2 separate regions of the Homo sapiens genome follow, and region 1 is linked to region 2. Evidence: promoter capture Hi-C in human tissues and cell types (Jung and others, 2019). All regions are on one chromosome and are shown on one strand. Each heading gives the region's core, a stretch centred on a gene start or on the middle of the fragment in contact. The rest is flanking DNA. Distances are from core to core; before and after follow the strand shown.

What was found. Contacts are between HindIII fragments. The study calls those that stand out against the background at their distance.
Region 1: a contact is called between the fragment with the promoter of GHRL here and the fragment with the promoter of CPNE9 in region 2, in 1 of the 25 tissues and cell types used here (liver).

The regions. Positions count from the first base shown.
Region 1 is chr3:10,290,351-10,295,794 of GRCh38, reverse strand. GHRL (ghrelin and obestatin prepropeptide) reads left to right here and starts at 2,848. Exons shown (of 6, transcript NM_016362.5): 1 at 2,848-2,953; 2 at 4,344-5,079. It overlaps GHRLOS (ghrelin opposite strand/antisense RNA), which reads right to left. Exons shown (of 6, transcript NR_073568.1): 6 at 2,346-3,727. RefSeq lists enhancers at 2,656-2,950, 2,761-3,010, 3,021-3,090, 4,602-5,204. The HindIII fragment of the contact is 19,242 bases long and covers 1-5,444 here.
Region 2 is chr3:9,701,464-9,706,693 of GRCh38, reverse strand. CPNE9 (copine family member 9) reads right to left here and starts at 2,861. Exons shown (of 21, transcript NM_153635.3): 1 at 2,630-2,861; 2 at 2,067-2,107; 3 at 1,899-1,945; 4 at 1,700-1,803; 5 at 1,194-1,230; 6 at 974-976; 7 at 631-707. The coding sequence starts at 2,697. MTMR14 (myotubularin related protein 14) reads right to left here. Exons shown (of 19, transcript NM_001077525.3): 19 at 4,301-4,904. The coding sequence ends at 4,721. RefSeq lists an enhancer at 2,312-3,222. The HindIII fragment of the contact is 25,532 bases long and covers 1-5,230 here.

The DNA.
Region 1 (5,444 bases), core at 1,599-4,098, 590 kb before region 2:
CATCTCTAGCAAAAATACAAAAATTAGCTGGGTGTGGTGGCGCATGCCTGTAGTCCCAGCTATTCAGGAGGCTGAGGCAGGAGAATTGCTTGAACCCAGGAGGTATGGGTTGCAGTGAGCCAAGATCACGCCACTGCACTCTAACCTGGACAACAGAGCAAGACTCCATCTCAAAAAAAAAAAAAAAAAAAAAAAAAAAACAAATATGACTTCAACATATTGCAAATACCTTCAACAACTCCGATATCCCTTTGCAAATATCCCTTTACAGGCTGAGGTGGGAGGATCAGTTGAGCCCAGAAGGTGGAGGCTGCAGTGAGTTGAGATCACGCCATTGCATTCAACCACAGGTGACACAGTGAGACCCTGTCTCAAATAAAAAAGAAAAGAAAAATGGATCTGCACTAAGGAATAAGGAGCAACACGATAGTAAATACCTGAGTTCATAAGACTTTTTCTTAATTTCTTTAATCTGTCTAAAAACTTTGGCTATTTAACATGCATTGTGGGGCTCATACCTTAAGTAAAAATAAAATGTGTGACAATAATATCACAAAGAATAGAAGTGGGGAAATGAAAGCATTCTGTGGTGCAGTTCTTACACTATCTGTGAAAGGATATCGTAGTTGTTGAAGGTATTCTGCAATATGTTGAAGTCATATTTGTAAATCCTAGAGCAACCACTCAAAGAATAGAACAGTACAGTATAGCTAATAAGCCGACGGTGAAGACAAAATGATACCATTCAAAACCCTCTAAAAGTGGTTATGACAAGAGAAAGAAAAGGAAGAACAGATGGGACAATGGAAAAATTGGTGACTTACAAATAGTCTGGAGATTAACAGTAATGTGCTAACACTGGTGTTTTAATTTTGATAAATGTACTACGGTTATATAAGATATTCACGAGTGGAAACTGAATTGGGTTATTCAGAGAGAAAGATTTCATCTTCCATATGTTTATATTTTCTGCTGGAAGCAAGCATTTATAATCAAAATTTACCTGGGATACTTGGTAATTTATAATCAAAATTACCTGAGATACTTGAAACAGATTCTAAAGCCCCCACGCCAGAGCTACTGGATCAGAATCCAAGGATGGAGTCTTATAAACGTGCATAAAACTTATGAAGCTTTCCTCATGAATCCAACACAACCCAACACAGGTCTGTATCTGGAAATTGAGACGAGATGGCCCTCCAAGCCACGTCCCACCCTGAGGTCGTCCTATGGCTCTTAGCGGTCCATAGACTAAAAGGCTGGATGATCAGCAACGCTGAGACAACAGTTTCAGTACAGCAGTGGGGATGAGAGGCAAGGTCAAGTTTTGAGGGGCCAGGACACAGCAAAGAAGAGGACACAAGGAAAGGGGAAGGAAATGGAGATGGTAACACGAGGGGAGGGTGGGATCGGTGCACAACAGACGTTTTCAGGATTAGGAACCTGGGTGTATTTTAAGGCAGAAAGCAGAAGCCACTGGAGGGGAACAGAAGACACGAGAGAGGCAAAGTGTTAGAGCTTTGGCCCCAAGATGGCCGGAGGCTAGGGAAGCCCCAGTGAGAGAGGCAGAGCTTGGCGAAGAGGAGGGATGAGAGAGCATGGCTAAGGTCAGGGAGGATTTAAGAGCGATGGCCGCCTATCTAGAATGAGCCGCATGTGGCTGCTGAGCATTTGAAACATGGCTAGTCCAAATTGAAATGCACTGTAAGAACACACACTGGATTTCAAAGACTACACATCTGTAATCCCAGCACTTTGGGAGGCAAAGTCAGGCAGATCACTTAAGCCAGGAGTTCAAGACCAGCCTAGGCAACATGTCAAGACTCTGTCTCTACAAAAAATACAAAAATTAACTGGGTGTGGTGGTGTGACCTGTAGTCCCAGCTACTTGGGAGCCTGAGGTGGGAGGATCATCTTAGTCCAGGGAGGTGGAGGCTGCAGTGAGCCATGATAGTGCCACTGCACTCCAGCCTGGGTGACAGAGCAAGAACCTGTCTCAAAAAAATATATATGTATATTCATTTAGACATATGCTGTTGCACACTTAGACTATAGTATGGTATCAGCATACGTTTTATATTTACTGGGAAACCAACAAAATTCGTGTGACTTGCTTCATTGTGGTCTGGGACCAAAGCTGTAATGCCTCCAAGGTATGCCTGTATATTTCTATTGCAAAATGTGAATCTCGAAATTATAAAAGCTACAACTAGGACAAAAAGCAACCCCACCAAATAGCCCTATATCAAAGAATAAAATCTCTTTCTAGAACCCCAGAATTTGCCTCTTTCAGACTGAAGTTTAGCCAAATCTATGAAAAAAGAGCTTGCTAAACCAACTAATTATCAGTACAAATAAAATTATAATGAAAAGTCTATGAAGATAATTTGTTCTCAGATGCCCTTCACATATAGCAATTAATTCACAAATGATGAGTCACTCATGTGCCTTCATGAAGGCAGGCCCTCAAGAGACCCGCAACAGAAAGGAAAGCCACCGACTGGAGAGAACCTGCTTCCTGAGCCCCACCAAGTTCCAAAAAGGAGAATGGGGCTTCGTCCTCACCCTCAAGGAGTTGCCAAACTGGGCTTGGTTATTATTCACACTTGAAAAGAATGAGGAAGGTCAGCCAGTCCCCTCCAGGTCGCTCGGGCTTCCTCCAAGCTCCTCTTGGTTCAAATTTGCTGTGTCCTCCAGCCGGCATCTCTCCTCTGTTCCGTAACTGACAGGGCAGCGAGGTAGCTTCCGGATGACTCCTCCCGCCATGGTTCTTCCGTCCATCAGCTCTTCCTTCCTCAACTCTGTGGTATGTGGCTAGGGGAGTTTCCAACTCCCAGGGGACATTTCAGTTCCCCAAAGATAACACAGCTTTGCACAGTGGATGTTTACTTGCTGGTGGTCTTATCTAAGATCAACATTGGCAGCTGTGCCCGGAGAGGCCTCCAGGGTCCAGGTAAGTGGAGGCTTCATGTCTCAGGAGGTACCTGGTCACCACAGTTAGGATTTTTCTGTTTGGGGATTTTTTTTTTTATGGGTTGGTGGCTCTGAAAAAGCTGCAAGTCTTCTCTGAGGACTACAGACCTCTCTCCACCCTCTCCACATTCAGCCTCTCTGGGCTCCAGGGCCAAAAGATGTCTACACTCAGGTGGCAGACAGGCCTGTGAAGACCTCCTGGTGACATGCTCATATGTTGCTGGGACTAAAGGTGGGATTTTAGCCACCACAGTGGGTTGGTGGTGAGATGTTTACCAACAGGAGGTACTTTGTCCCTCATGTCCACTTAAAGATTCAGTCCAACCCGGCCTGTGCTTCTGCTGTCCCAAGAGACTCTAGAAAGCTCCAATCCTCCCTGAGGTTGATCTTTTAAGTCAGGGTAGGTGGTCATTCGGCAATCAACTGCTCTACTGCCTCAATGTCCTCCTCACTGGACGTCCTGCCCCAATTCCATCCTGTTCAGCGCAGACTGATTTTCCTGGAACACAATGTTCATTATGGAGCCAGATGGCATATCAGAAAGAGCACTGTATTAGGAGTCAAGAGATCCATGGGGGAATCCCAGCATTGCCCCTGATGGCTGTATAGCTTTGGGGAAAGTGAGGCCCTCTTGGCATTCAGTTTTTCTTCCAGCGAAATAAAGGATTCAGCCTCCCAGAGCTTTAAAGTCTTTCCAACTCTTTCATTCATTCTATGGTCTCTCTCTCCTCAAGAATCCTCAGTGGCTGCCCTCCTGCAAAAAAAGCCCAAACTTCTTGGGCTAGCAGTTCCCAAGGCATCCATCACCTGGCCCCAAACCACCTTCTTATGTTTTTGTTATGACCCCATCGCCACCCTCCCCCAAGCCACCCAGCCTTCTCCATGCTGCCCTGATGTACTCTACCCACGCCTTCACCTCCCCTCTGCTTGCCGCAAAGCCCTCCCTCCAAAGCCCTGCCCCGAGTTCACCACAGGCCTCTTTCCTGGAGCCTTTGCTAACATCCCTGCCGCAAGCCCCAGCCTAAGGTGAGCTCCTCTCCTGAACTGCTAGAACTTCTCTGCAGACAACTCATTGGCCCTTAGGGGTTCCTGCCTGGGCACCCAGTTGGATGAAGCACTCCAGAAAGGAAGAAATTCCTGGGGCCGAGGGAAATGAGGCAGTGGCCTTGGCCTATGCTGGGAAGTCCTATGGGCCTGGTATGAAACCATTGTCATCTGCAGGGTGTTTCACAGGTTAGAAGCCACTTTCCCCCCATCGCCTCATTTCACCCTCAAAGACTCTGGGTAAGGGGAATTATTTGTGGTCGGCGTAAGGCCAGTCAATGAGAGAGGAGCCAGGCCCGTGCTAAGCGTAGATCTTCCACCTCCAGGTCCAATGCACTTCCCTCTCAGAAGAGGCATCCGCTAAAATAGGGACCAAAGCTGCTGGAGGGAGGCAAGGCAAGCTGCTATGTGAAAAAACGCCAGGCCAGGCAGTCATGTCACACCTGGCAGAAATGACTGAAGCATAGCCACTGGCTGAAGTTATCCCCACACCCACTCTCTGGAGAGGATGATCAGGAGCAGTCTGCTCAACCGGGAGGTGGGACTCCTCCTCGGGAAGGTGTAGAATCACCAGCCTGGCTCCCTGCGGACTCCCGGGGCTCACAGAGGCCAGAGCAGCAACAGCACATGGGAAACAACGGGGCGCTGGACTGGGGAGGTCTCAGAGCTCTCCTAGTGATGACAGCCTCATTTTACCCAGGGAGAAAGGGCGAGTAAGCTAAGGTCACACAGCAACAAAGCTGCACCCAGACCCCAGAGCCACTCTCCTCCCTCCCTCCTCCACCAGGGCCATGCCCACTTGGGGCACCCCGCCACCGTGTTCCAGGGACAGCTGGAGCACATGCTTCTTCCCTCGCCAACCCAGCAATTCCGCAGGGCATCTGACCTCCACTGTTGACTTCTACCCAGAGGACAAGAACATTTTTAGTTCCCAAGGAATGTACATCAGCCCCACGGAAGCTAGGCCACCTCTGGGATGGGGTTGCTGGTTTAGAACAAACGCCAGTCATCCTATATAAGGACCTGACAGCCACCAGGCACCACCTCCGCCAGGAACTGCAGGTAAGCTCTCTCTACTCTCCGTGTGCGTTTGCTGACAGGTTTATTGTCCGTGACTGCTGCCCGTCCGTTTAACCTCTCTGGGCCTCAGGAGTCCCCTCTAAACACGGGGGATGTCGGACTGTCTGGCTGGAAGACAGAGCTTCATTTAGGAGCTACCTCTAACCCCCTCCCTGCTGAGTGCCCTGGGGCCCTTGCTGGTTCAGCTTCCTCCCTCCTCATGAAAAGACTCGCCATGAGCTCTCAGAGCCTGGGACAAAAGGCACCGGGGAGGACCCCCAGCCCCTATCAAGTCCTGCTGCCAGGTGTTCTGCCCTGAACGGCCTTGGAGAAGAGAACACACATCCATCATCTTCTACCTTGGGAGG
Region 2 (5,230 bases), core at 1,612-4,111:
TGATTCTGCTCTACTTCGTCTCTTTCCCCATAGCACTTAATATTGTCTAATCTATTATGTAATTTACTTATGTCTATTTTGTACTGTCCTCCCCACACAACTAGAGTATCAGCCCCCTGAGGACAAGAACCTTTGTTTTGTTCACCATTGCAAGCTAATCCCCTTTAACAGTGGCTGACATAGGGTATGTATACATAGTGTTTGTGGAATGAATGAAGCCCTGGTGCCTAGAACAGGGTGTGGGATATAAAACATGCTAATGCATATTTAGTGAGTGGATGTAATGGTAATTCCTGAGGATTTGACTTAGTCCGGGGGAGCTTCCCTGTGGAGAGGGGCTTGGAAGTGGACCTTAAAGGCTGAATCAGACTTAGAAAAAGAGTGAGGAGAGAGAGAGAGAAACAGAGAGAGAGAGAGAAAAAAAAAAAAGAAAAGAAAAGACATATCAGGCCTGATACTGACTCGGGCAGAGCACTGGAAATTGGACTTTTCTACGAGGGTGATGGGAGCCGGGGCAGGCTCCTGACCAGGGGCAACCCCAGCCTCCACTTCTATCAGTCAGCGGCATCCTTGGGAGGGAGAATTTGGAAGCCCCCACCCCACTCCCACACCCCTTCCTATTCAGCTTACGTGAGGGTTCGCTCTACTCGGCTGCCCTGGCCTCCAATCACCTCTCCCAGGGCCAGGAACGCTTGTCCCAGGAAATCCTATGCAGGACAAGGAGTCAGCAAGACCAGAAGCTCTTGAGTGCTGAGTCCCAGCCTAGCCCCAGTGATGCTCCTGCACAGGACCAGGGCAGTTCCCAGGCGAATGAGTGGTGCAAGAGCCACGGCCCTACATGGGCTTTAATGGAGGGGGTGTGAAAGAAGGGGTCTGCGAGCAATCTCTGCCTTGTAGTGGGTCATCAGTCCAAGCCTGTTCTCCACAATACCACCCCCACCCCCAACCTCTGCCCAGCCCCATTCAGCCTCACCTTCTGCAGGTCCCAGCAGTGGCAGCCAAGAAGGAAGAGGAACAGTGAGTAGGGGGCACAGGCAGGACACTCAGGCAGGAGGAGAGGGACCAGGAGGGTGGGTTGGGGGCCTGAAGAAGATGGGGTCTGGGTCGAGGGTTGGGAGGAGTTCTGAGAGTCGTTGAACACATCTAAGTGCCTCCTGTGCGCTCCGCCAACCCTCGAGGAAACGTTTGCTCACCGGTTTGGAGATGTTGGTTTTGGAGTCCACGTTGTACCTGGGAAAAGAGTGGAACCGGTGTGGGGTGGGGCTGGGTGGGGGAGAGGGTGGAAAGGGGTCGGGCACCGAGTCTTGGTGAAAATTTTGGGTGGAGGGATGGGCGGCCGTGGACCCGAATTCAGCTTTGGTCTCCTTTTGGGGAGGAGTCAGGGTGGGCTGAGTAGTCAGACGGTCAAGCCTGGGCCGAGGCCAAGTCAGGGGCTGCTGGGGGCAGGGTTGTGTGGAAGGGGTCGGGCCTGAGGTGGAGCTGCGATAGGAGCAGAGTTGTGGGCGGGGCCAGAGCGGGGGACGGAACTGGACCGCATCTCATAAAAGGGCAGGGCTCAGGCTAGAGGGGGCCATTCAGAATGGGAGGGAGGCCTGCGAGAAGAACCAGGCCGGAGGCGAGGCGGGGGTGGGGCCAGCCAGAATTCCGGGCGGATCCAGGTCGGGGGCGGGCCAAGCCAGAATTCCAGGCGGGGCCTCACACATCGAAGCGCAGATTTTGCTTTTCCTCAAAGAAATAGTCGAGGACGAATTTGCGCACGAAGTCTGGGTTCAGCGTGTTATCAATCACCTCGGTCCGTCCGAACTGGGTAGGGGGGTGGAGGGTCAGCGTGGGACGTGCAGACGGGCAGGGGAATTCCCGGGCGACGCCCTGGGCCGGGAGGGGGCTCTGGGACTCACCTCCCGCCACTCCTGGCTGGCCCGGCTCTGCGTGTAAAGCACCACCACTGCAGGTGGGGGCGGGGAGGGAAGGACGTCAGGTCGGCTCCCACCCCTGGCCCCGACTCCACCCGCCCCTGAGTCGCGCCCAGACCCCAAGTTCCCCCTCCCGGTCCTGGAGCCGCCTACTGGGGTCGGACTTGGAGAAGGTATCAAGGTCTAGCAGGTTCCTAGAGAAAAGCAACAGACAGACAGAGTGGATCATCCTGGAGTCCGCCCGCCTCGAGTCGGCTCTGAGCCGGGCACTGAGGAGAGGCATGGGGCCCGCATCGAACCTCTGTCCCCCATGGCTACCCCCAGCCGGGGTCCGCTCTGTCAGCACTCTGGACAGCACCGGAAATCGCTGTCCAGGAACCATGGCTCTGCGGACTGGACGCGAACGCACCCACACTGTCTCCAAGGGCCCAGGAAAGAGGGCTCGCCCCAGAACTTTGTCCTCCTGGGGCCGAGCTCCTACCGGATATCTGCGACCCACCCCCTGAACCCGCAGGCTGAGCCCTTTTTTCGGGGTGGGGCTGCCCAAGACCCCCCGCTTCTCGATCCCACCAGCTACTCGCCCTGTCATCAGCTGTGATTTTCCAGCCAATTTCGCCTCTCCCCGGGGGTCTAGCCCCTGCCCAGGCTGAGCCCCGCGGCTGGCTGGGGCTGGGGCAGTGCCAGTGCCTAAGCCCTCCCCAGCGCGGCCCGCTCACCGGCAGGACACGGTAATTTCAATCTTGGTGGCCGGGACGCTGCGCTCGGAGGCTCCGCCGAGAGACATGGCTGGTCGGGCGACCAGAGCCGCAGGAGGCTGCGAGACCAGGGCTGCTGGGGCTAGGGGCGACGGCAGCGGCGGGGCCGGCCCATGTGCCGCGGTGTCGGCGGCGGCGGCGGCTGCACTCGCTCCAGCCCTGCGTGCGCTCCAGCCGCTCGCGCCCTGACAGTGGCCGCCGGCGGCAGCGGCTCCAGATGGCAGCACAGCCCCGCCCGGCCCTGCGGGCGGCCCCCGCCCCATTGGAGCAGCCTGGAGCCAGCGGGGAACCTCACCCCGACTCCCAACTCCAACCCACACCTTGGTAGAGTCTGCCCTGCGCAAGTCTCTGGGGTGGAAACCCAAGCCCCCTAGAGTTGTCCATGATGCTGAAACATTTGGGGCACCTGGTGGGCACTGGAATTGTTGCCTCTTACTGAGCCACTCCCTTAGTGTTTCTGTCTTTTCCCACTCCCAGCCTGCCTAGGTCTCTGAATAGGAAAAGTACATCTCTTAGTAGCTGTGTGACCTTGGACAAGTTACTCAACATCTCTGTGGCTCAACCGTGAAAGGCCGTCAGAAAGGCCTTTAACAGCAGCTACTTTAGGTGCTGTAAAATTTTACTGAGATAACCCAAGGAAAACACTTAGCACACAGCAAGTGCTCAGTAAACATTCACTGGTATTTATGATTTGTCCTCTGGGTATTCACAATGATGACAGTAAATGGTGGCTGTTGAGCACCGTGCAAAGCTGTCTGCCCATGCCTTTAACCCTCACGACTTTCATGGCGTTACAGATGCGGACACACTCTCATGACGCAATCTACTGTAGGTTACACTGTAGAAGAGGGTGGTGGTCAGCCAGGCTCTCACCCACCACACATGCACACCAATTGCTATCTCCAAAGCTTCAGAAGCCAGTCCTTCCTCCATAGGCAGGGCTCAAGGTAGGGGATGCAGGTCACCCGTACCAGGACCCTGCTGCCTACAGAACTTGTTAAAGATGAAGATCCTGGTCAGGTACGGTGGCTCATGCCTGTAATCCCAGCACTTTAGGAGGCCAAGGCAGGCAGATCACTTGAGCTCAGGAGTTTGAGACTGGCCTGGCCAACATGGTGAAACCCCATCTCTACTAAATACAAAAATTAGCTGGGGATGGTGGCACGTTCACGTAGCTACTCAGGAGACTGAGGCAGGAGGATCGCTTGAACCCAGGAGGCAGGGGTTGCAGTGAGCCAAGATTGTGCCATTGCACTCCAGCTTGGGTAACAGTGAGACTCCATCTCAAAAAATCTGAAAAAAATGAAGATCCTCCAGCTCCTAATTCCCAGGCAACTTCCTTAGCAACCCTAAGGCTAAAGCTCAGGCAGCCCTGGGAATGTGCACAGCTCATCAGGCTCTCTAGGTGACTAGGACCTGCTTAGGCCCGAGAACCACTACTCTCAACAGTCTTGAGTGTTGTCCCCACTGCAGGGACTACCATGGCTCATGAGTGGAGAGGTATACCTGTCGCCAGTTCTCTTCCTGTTTCACCTGCCCTCCACATAAAAACCCCTTGTCCAGCACAAGGAAGGACAATGAGAACCTTCCTAGTAGCTCCACAAAGACAATAACCAAATGATGACACAAGAGTGGCTATTCAAAAAGACTTTGATTTTATTTTGTGATCTGTGTCAAACTGCCTCATTCTCAGTGCAGGTGATCCCTCCTCCCCAGAAACAAGAACTGACAGGTAGGGTCTTTGTGAAGTCATGGCTTCCACAAGGCCCCAGGGAAACCCCACACAGTTCTGAGAGTTGATGGGAATCCCAGCAAAGATGGGGTGGGTGGGAGACAGTGACAAGAAGGGGTGGTGGTCACCAGTCAAGAGGCTGGGGGTTGGAAAACCCTGTCTTTGGCCTTGCTCAGCTTTGGGGCTGCCATGTTCATGATGGAGATGGGGGACTGAAATTTCCCCTGACCTGGAAGTACCCCTTCGGCCAGGCATGGCTTTGATTCTCTGCTAAGGGCTCAGCTGAGAGAGGAGCAGGAAAATGTCATGGGCTGGCTTCTTCACAAGGCATTGCTGCTGATGCTCCGGAGTCCAACACCACGGGCAAATTGCTCCAGCAGGCCCCCGATGGCACCGGAAGGACTGGGGGCTACTGCCCGAAGCCCCACTGTGCTGCTGTACGCAGCCAAGAAGGCTGAGCGCACCTCCTGCAGCCGAGTCTCTCGATCACTCAGGGCTGCAAGCCTATGGGGAGGTCAAGAGAAAGAACAAAGACATTACCCTGGGACAGGACCCAGTATCCTCATCCTCCCTCCCTCCATACCACCTGTCCTTGTGCTTCTTCTGACTGTACAAGGCCAGTGTCTGTCCTACGGCCATGCTATCCTTGTGGTTCAGGCCCCAAATATCTGGCCCTGTTTTCCCTTAAACCATTCCTCTAAGCCCTCAGGCTACTGTTCCCACCTAGAGCAGGAGCTTTTACTGGGACACTAACCTTTTTTTTTTTTTTCTTGAGACAAGGTCTCACTCTATTGCCCAGGCTGGAATGCAGTGACACAATCAGCGCTCAC